3 separate regions of the Homo sapiens genome follow, and all the other regions are linked to region 2. Evidence: promoter capture Hi-C in human tissues and cell types (Jung and others, 2019). All regions are on one chromosome and are shown on one strand. The core of a region is centred on a gene start or on the middle of the fragment in contact, and the rest is flanking DNA. Distances in the headings are between cores, read along the strand shown.

The links. Contacts are between HindIII fragments. The study calls those that stand out against the background at their distance.
Region 1: a contact is called between the fragment with the promoter of GRAMD1A here and the fragment with the promoter of SYNE4 in region 2, in 1 of the 25 tissues and cell types used here (spleen).
Region 3: a contact is called between a fragment that was not itself captured here and the fragment with the promoter of SYNE4 in region 2, in 1 of the 25 tissues and cell types used here (dorsolateral prefrontal cortex).

Annotation. Positions count from the first base shown.
Region 1 is chr19:34,998,979-35,001,678 of GRCh38, forward strand. It overlaps GRAMD1A (GRAM domain containing 1A), which reads left to right and starts at 1,345. Exons shown (of 20, transcript NM_020895.5): 1 at 1,345-1,508. The coding sequence starts at 1,501. RefSeq lists silencers at 1,180-1,559, 1,830-1,959. The HindIII fragment of the contact is 31,318 bases long and covers 1-2,700 here.
Region 2 is chr19:36,007,506-36,010,205 of GRCh38, forward strand. It overlaps SYNE4 (spectrin repeat containing nuclear envelope family member 4), which reads right to left and starts at 1,308. Exons shown (of 8, transcript NM_001039876.3): 1 at 1,049-1,308; 2 at 712-862. The coding sequence starts at 1,176. It overlaps ALKBH6 (alkB homolog 6), which reads right to left. Exons shown (of 7, transcript NM_032878.5): 7 at 1,615-2,048. The coding sequence ends at 1,785. RefSeq lists enhancers at 480-1,021, 1,022-1,561. The HindIII fragment of the contact is 19,934 bases long and covers 437-2,700 here.
Region 3 is chr19:34,684,120-34,686,819 of GRCh38, forward strand. ZNF302 (zinc finger protein 302) reads left to right here. Exons shown (of 5, transcript NM_001289187.2): 5 at 133-2,277. The coding sequence ends at 1,118. Among named protein-coding and RNA genes, the nearest start is that of ZNF302, 7.8 kb to the left of the region's middle. The HindIII fragment of the contact is 3,944 bases long and covers 1-2,700 here.

The sequences.
Region 1 (2,700 bases), core at 95-2,594, 1.0 Mb before region 2:
TGAGGACTTTGCTTTTACCTGGAGTGAGGTACAGCTGGGGCAGGGCTCTGAGCCAGGAGGGTAGTTAACTGACTCAGGTGGTCCCAGGCTCTCTCTGGCTGCAGGTGAGAACAGACAGTAGGGGCAGGGATGGGAGCAGGGAGATCAGGCAGGAGAGGATGGAGGCTGGGCCAGGGCGTGGGCAGCGGAGGAAGAAGAGTTTAGAATGGAGCGATTGATTTTATACGTGGAGCCCACAGTTTGTGACGGATTGGATGTGGTGTGAAGGAAAAGAGAGGGTCAGAAAAGACTCTGAAGTTCTGGGCCTGCCATTCATCAAAATGGAGAAGTCAGGTGGGCTTCTTTTGCAGGAGGAGGGGAAGGGTTGATGGAGAGGGTTGGGAAGGGAGTTTTTTCAAAAGAGGCGGGGACAGCGTACCCTGGAGAGCGCTGGGGAGCCACAGCCCCGGAGCTGTGAGGTGGGACTCGCATTTCTGTGTGGTTGGGCCAGGAGTCCAGGACACCACCTGACTCTGACCTCTTGCAGACGGGGCGGGGGAGGGGGGACGCAGGTTATGGCGTCAGAGCAGGATCGAATCCAACTCTGCCGCCTACCTACCAGGTGACCCCAACAAGTCACTTCCCATCTTAGAGGCCGGGCTTCTCCTTCCGTAAAAGGACTGATTTTGCCCGTTCCTGCGCTGTCCCCGGGAAAAGCCCTTACCACCGAGTTAGTGGGACTCCCAGCACTGGGGTGATGAGCGCAAGGTCTCAGCACAGATAAGAGCCAGGGAGGCTGGATTCTGACTTGGTACTTGGCCTGGCTGACCAAAACTGGGAAGTCCCTAGAAACGGAGGCACCGGACCTCCTGGGACCAGGAACCCGGGCTCAGAGACTGGGAGAGGGAAGGAGGAGGCGGCCAACCGGCCCCACCCCTTCCCGCCAGCTTCAGGCCCCCTCCCCCATACATACACCTCGGTTTCCCAGCATCTCCAGTCCTCCCCCACCTTCGCCCCGGCTCTCAGGTTCCTCCCTGGGAGGTCCAGGAGCTTCTGGCCAGGGGCATAGTAGTTGCTAGGGACCCTTTTCTAGGTACTAGGGGAGGGGGCTCCCCAACCTGCGGGCAGGCAGCTGCCTCCACGATGTTTGGTTTTAATAAAGTCTCTTTGTTTCCTTCTCTGTCTCTCTGCCCCTCTGCTTTCCCTTCTCTGTCCAGTCCCTCTCTCCCCGGCTTCTCCCTCCTTCTAGGCCTCTGCGGCCCCTCCCCGCCTTCCCTCCCGGGCTGGGGGCGGCGCCGTGACGCGGCGGGGCGGGGGAAGGAAGGGGGTGTCGCTGACGCCGCGGCGGCCTCCGGCGGCTCCGGCCTTTTGTGCGGGCGGTTGGGTCGGGTGGGGGCGGCGGCCGCGGAAGGCCAGGCCGGTGCCCTGCGGGGACGCCCAGCGCAGCCCAGCCCCGCGCAGCCCAGCCCTGCCCTGCCCTGCCCTGCCCTGCGCCCGGGGCGCGCCCACCGCGCCGCATCCATGTTCGAGTAAGGACCGGGCGACTAGAGCTCAGGGACCGGGCGCGCGGGGGAGGCCACCGGAGGGAGGGGGCGCCGCGGGCTTGGGGAGGGGGCGGAGCGGCCGCTGCAGAGGTCGGGGGCCTCTGCACATGGCTCTGGCCGGGGCGATCGGGGTGGGGGCGGGGCAGGGGGCCCCCGGGCGAGGGGTGCAGCTGGGGAGTGGGGCGCGGACGCAGGGCAGGGCCCGGGGTCTGGGTCGCCACTGCCGGCCCGCGACGCACTGGGTTGCGGGGTTTGGCTGGGGGCCCGCGGGTTCATCTGGCGGGGAGGGCCCTCAGGCCTGGCAACCCCCTGCCTGGTAAGCCAGGGGTGAGCGCGAGGCCGAACTGGGGCTCCGGCCTGGGATGGAGACAGGATCGGGACCAGCCCAGGCCCACAGGCCGCGGAGCCCTGGGCGCGCCGGGAGTAGGCAGCCCCCTCCTGCCTGGGCCCCCTCCCACCGTCCTTGGCTGTTGCGGGTCTCGGGGCTGCCGGGGGTGGGGGCTTCCTGCGTCTCTCCAGGACCGCGTGCTTGAGGTCATGGAGGGCGGGGGGTCCTGTGTGCTCGGAATTGACTTCTTACTCCCCTTCCGGTCCAGGTGGGCGCATGTGCTTCCGACTGTGAATTGTCTTGCAAGTGTGTGTACGTGTGTCTGGGGCTGCTAGCCTGCAGCAGCTTTGGGCCTCTGATAGAGTTCCTGCGTGTAACTTAACCACTAATTCTGACCGCGGCTCTGTGTGTCACTGTAAGTTACCTGTGTGTGTCTGGGGCTCCAAATCTGTGGCTGTGAGCAGCTGGTTGTGTGCGTGTTGTGTCTCATTCCATCTGTAGCTCCCTGTGCAAATATAAATTACCCCTGTGTGTCTGAGTGTGACGTTGGAGTGTTTGTACATGTGTCTGGAGTTACCGTGTGTAGCAGCTCTGATCCTTCTTGGGCTGTGTGTGTTTTACCATTAATTCTATCTGTAGCTCCAAGCGTTGCTGTAAGTTACCAGTGTGCGTCCCATTGTGACTTAGTGGTGTGTGTACAAGTGTGCCTGGGGCTCTGGGTTCTACCATGACCCTCTGTGCCTGCATATGCCTGTAATTTAGCTCTGAAACGCTCTTCTTTTTTTTTTTTTCTTTTGAAATAGAGTCTGGCTCTGTCGCCCAGGCTAGAGTGCAGTGGCACGATCTCGG
Region 2 (2,700 bases), core at 58-2,557:
TGAGGCCTGGGGGGTCTGGACAGGGAGCGGGGCTGGGTACCCCCCAAGAAGAATGGGGCTACACCAGGAGCAATGATGAAATGCTTCTCAGCCGGGCGCAGTGGTTCACATCTGTAATCCCAGCACTTTGGGAGGCCGAGGCCCGAGGATCACTTGAGCCCAGGAGTTCAAGACCAGCCTGGGCAACATGGTGAGACATCATCTCTACTTTTTTTTTTTTAATAAAAAAGAAATATGGCTGGACACGGTGACGCACGCCTGTAATCCCAGCACTTCGGGAGGCTGAGGTGGGTGGATCACCTGAGGTCGGGAGTTCGAGACTAGCCTGGCCAACAAGTCGAAAACCCATCTCTACTAAAAATACAAAAAATTAGCCAGGTATGGTGGCATGTGCCTGTAATCCCAGCTACTCGGGTGGCTGAGGCAGGAGAATCACTGGGACCTGGGAGGCGGAGGTTGCAGTGAGCAGAGATCTCACCACTGCATTCCAGCCTAGGTGACAGAGAGACTCCATCTCAAAAAAAAAAAGAAAGAAAGAAATACGTCTCCCCAGTTGGTCAGATATTGAAACACTTTTCCAGAAGGTCCCTCCCCCTACAGACACCCAACACCTTTCCAGAATCATCACCCGGTCCTCAGTATGGAGGCCAGACTCCAGGGGACAGAGAGGAGGTGGGGCTGGCACAAGGGGTCTGGGTCACCTCAGCTCACCTCACAGTGTTTGCCCCCAGCTGGGTCCTCGTAGGAAGAGGGTGTTGACCATCTCGGGGGGTGAGCGGCAGGCTCATTGCCCCTTGGCCCACCCTGGAAGTGCTCAGGAGGGCCCAAGGAGTCCTGTCCCAGGGTCTGGGCCTGCTCTGGGCTAGGAGGCAGGGGGCGGTGACTGGGTGAGTCTCGACACCTCACTTTTCAGCCTACCGTCACCCCAACCCTGGTGGCCTCTCCTATGTCCCCAGGCGATCACAGCCATGGCACCTCCTACCCTCACATGGCCCCTGCCACCACGCCTACCCTTTTGGGAACAAGCTTCCAAAGCCCCGGCCCCCACCTCGTGCTCTCCTCTCCGGACGCGGGGCAGACGGTGCATCCAACAATGTCCGCCTCTCTAGGTGCTCCCGGTGGGTGGTTGAGGGGCTCTGAGCCAAGTCTAGGGCCCAGAGGCAGGGACAGGGCCATGGCTGGGGGCCTGGGGACACAAAGTCAGGTGAGGGCAGCCAGTAAGACCTCTTCCCTAGACAAGGGTGTCCCAGAGCTCCTCCGCTGGAGTCACCCGGGCCTGAGGCTGCAGGAGAGGCCCAGGACAGGTCTGGCTCCGCCCCTTCCAAGAGGAACCTGGACCCGGCCATTTGATGCCCAGCTCAGGTGACAGAAGAGTCACTTAACTCCTTCCTCCCTAGCAGGCCAGTAGCTAAATCTCCCAGCATCACTCCACGCCATCCAAGAGGGTTCCAGATAGAACCCCTGCGCCACCTCCTCAAGAGCCCTGGATTCTGCCCCACTGGGAACCCAGAAATCGGACCTCCAGGGCCTACCCCATTCATTTAAGACCCTAGATGCCGCTCCCCTCAGGAAACCAAGCATCTGGCCCCTAAAAAATAAAAATATAAAACCAAGGAAAGATTTTTTTGTTTATTTGGTATGGGGTCTTCTGTAGCTCACACAAAATTATTGGGAAAATAAATAACCCAGGGGAGCCCCCTTTGCCCACGGTTCCTAGGTCGCGGAGTCACAGCAGCCCCAAAGGGGCAGGAACCTGGGAATCCGAGGGGTCCCGGCCCTGGCGGTCACTTGCCCAGCAGGAGGCCGGCGCGCAGCACGCGGGGCACGCGGCGGATGGTCAGCGAGACCCGGGTGCCGCGCACCAGGCAGGCTCCCGGCCGCGCCGACGGGCAGGCTGCCGCATTGGGCGGCGAGGAGGCGGCGTCCAGCGCGTCTACGCGGGCGGCGGCGATGCCGTGGAGAAGACGCGTGTAGGCGGGGCCGCGGAGCACCAGCAGGCTGCGCGGTTCCAGCAGTAGCGAGGTGGTGGGCCGGGGCGGAGGCCGAGGCTGCAGGGCGGGTTGAGGGTCAGCAGGGCTCAAGAAGTCGGGGGGTGGGGGTGGGCGAGAGGTCGGTAGCCTCCGGGGATCAGCTAGTCCCCAGGGGCAAAAGCTGAAGAGCAAGTGTGCTCACAATGATGGAGGCTTTGGTGGTTCAGGAGTGAAAATTGCTGGGGCCTGGGCTGGGGCTGCTGGAAAGGGAGGGCGAGGGCTCTGCCGTCCCTCGGGAGGGGGCAGGATCTAGGTGGCAGATGGGGGCGTCAAAGGGTCAGCGGCCGGTGGGAGCTGCAGCTGGGATCTCAAAGGGGCTGAGGCTGGGGCTGGGACCCAGGAATAGGCAGTCCCCAGGAAATACAGGCAGAGCTGGGCTGAGAGAGCATGGCTGAAGCCAGGACCAGGTGAGGAGAGAGTGAGGCAGAGGTTAGAGGCAGTGGGGGTTCCCAAGGACATCAGGACATTAGAGGACAACCGCACAGCTGAGGGAGTGTCAGAGCATCCAGGAGCATGCAGGGCTCGAGGGCAAGCCTCAAGGAGTGGGTCGGCGTGTTCAGGGGCGTTTCTGTGAACACTGGGGTGCTAGAAATGCATCACTCAGAGAAATTGTGTCAAGGGGTCAAGGAGAATCTGGGGGTGTCCTGCACCCCAAATCACATTCCTGGAG
Region 3 (2,700 bases), core at 29-2,528, 1.3 Mb before region 2:
CATTTCTTATCCAATTCTCCTAATTCCACTGTAGAAGCTTTTTTCAAGAAGTAAAAAAAAAAAAAAAAAAAAAAAAAAAAAAAAAAAAAAAAAAAAAAAAAGGCAGTGCTTTGCTTTCTTGATATATTTCAGATTGGGAATCAAGATGGGAAAACAAGGAATTATCAACAAAGAAGGATATTTATGATGAAGATTCACCCCAACCAGTAACAATGGAAAAAGTTGTAAAACAAAGTTATGAATTTTCAAATTCTAATAAGAATTTGGAATATACAGAATGCGACACATTTAGAAGCACCTTTCATTCAAAGTCTACTCTTTCTGAACCACAAAACAATTCTGCTGAAGGGAATTCACACAAATATGATATATTAAAGAAGAATTTATCAAAAAAGTCAGTTATAAAAAGTGAGAGAATAAATGGTGGAAAGAAACTTTTAAATTCTAATAAAAGTGGGGCAGCCTTCAACCAGAGCAAATCTCTTACCCTTCCCCAGACTTGTAATAGAGAGAAAATCTATACATGCAGTGAATGTGGGAAAGCCTTTGGCAAACAGTCAATCCTCAGTCGCCACTGGAGAATTCATACAGGAGAGAAGCCCTATGAATGTCGTGAATGTGGGAAGACTTTTAGCCATGGTTCATCCCTTACACGACATCAGATAAGCCATAGTGGAGAGAAACCTTACAAATGCATTGAATGTGGGAAGGCCTTTAGCCATGGCTCATCACTTACTAACCATCAGAGCACTCACACGGGAGAGAAACCGTATGAATGTATGAACTGTGGAAAGTCTTTTAGTCGTGTGTCCCTTCTCATTCAGCATCTAAGAATTCATACGCAAGAAAAACGCTATGAGTGTCGTATATGTGGAAAGGCCTTCATTCATAGTTCGTCTCTCATTCACCATCAGAAAAGCCATACTGGAGAGAAGCCTTATGAATGTAGAGAATGTGGGAAAGCTTTCTGCTGTAGCTCACACCTTACTCAACATCAAAGAATTCACAGTATGAAGAAAAAATATGAATGCAACAAATGTCTCAAGGTCTTTAGTAGCTTCTCATTTCTTGTTCAACATCAGAGTATTCATACTGAAGAAAAACCGTTTGAAGTTTAGAAATGCAGGAAATCCTTCAACCAGCTTGAATCACTGAATATGCATTTGAGAAATCACATTAGATTGAAACCCTACGAATGCAGTATATGTGGGAAAGCCTTTAGTCATAGGTCGTCCCTGCTTCAACATCACAGTATTCATACTGGAGAGAAACCTTACGAATGTATTAAATGTGGGAAGACCTTCAGCTGTAGTTCAAACCTTACTGTACATCAGAGAATTCATACTGGAGAAAAGCCATATAAATGTAGTGAGTGTGGGAAAGCTTTTAGCAAAGGCTCGAATCTTACTGCCCATCAAAGAGTACATAATGGAGAGAAACCCAATAGTGTGGTAAGTGTGGAAAAGCCTTTAGATCATATGAATCCCTATACATGTGAGAAATCTTACAGAAGAGAAGCAGTGTTTATCACGGTAAACTTCATTCATAGATCCTCCCTTATTTAACATCAGAAAAATGTATACTGGGGAAAAGTTGTATGAAGGTGGTGAACATGGGAGACTTTTAGCAATGATGCAGATTTTTTTATTAGAGTTTATACTGTAGAGAAATCATATGAAGTCAATAAATGTGGGAAAGCCTTTGTCAGTATTAATCCCTTAATTGACCTAAGTATACTCACACTAGGAAAAATCTGTGTACATGTAGCAAATGTGGGAAAGACTATAGGCAATAGGAATCTCCTGCAAACTCCTACAGGAGAAAAGTTGTATGAATGTGGAAACTTTAGAAATTGAAGGAATTTTTCAGTTCCAAGTGCATCCCTTATTCTATAGGAAATAAACTGGAGACAAATCTCATTTAAGAGATGCAGCAAAGTGTTCACTAAGAGTGTTTATCTTGCCAGACATAAGAAGATGAATGGTAGAGCAACCTGAAGGATTTAGAAATTACATATAAATCTTTGCAGTTATGCTATTTGTAAACAGGATTATATAGGAGAGCAAATAAACATAAGTATGCATTTCTTAGAGCAGTAGCTTGCAGTTTCAGTTGAGTTCTACTTAGAAATTCTTTTTAGCTAGTGGGCATGTGAAGATATTTAGTCACCCAGAGGAGCCAGTAAATGTTATAATGTTAAAAATTAAAGCTGCAAAAGAAATAAAATGGTGTTAATAAAAATTTGGCATCTAATAAAATCATTTTGTATATCATGAACTCTTTCTCTGTGACTGTTTGCGACAAAAAAAAATTTCACTAAGATTAGCCTTAGTATAGCCTTTAGCGGGAGACTAGCAAACTTCGAGAAGAATGGCCTGCTCTTTATACTAAGAATAGCAGTATTTTGGTGAGGATTATTGAGTCCATATCCAGTAGGCTTAATTAAATACATTTCAAGAACATTTACTGAGCATTACTCATGTGTATTACACAGGGATGGGATAAAGGAATCTAGTAGTTCTGAGCTCTAGTGCTGTGTCGAAATCACTGGAAGGACGTGTTAAAGCACAGATTGCTAAGCCTCAGTCCTAGAGTTTCTGTATGAGTTGATTTGAATTTGCATTTTTCACACGTTCTTAGGGGACACTAACACTGTTTGTCCAGAATATAATAATAATGTTATGGTGTCACTGACAACAT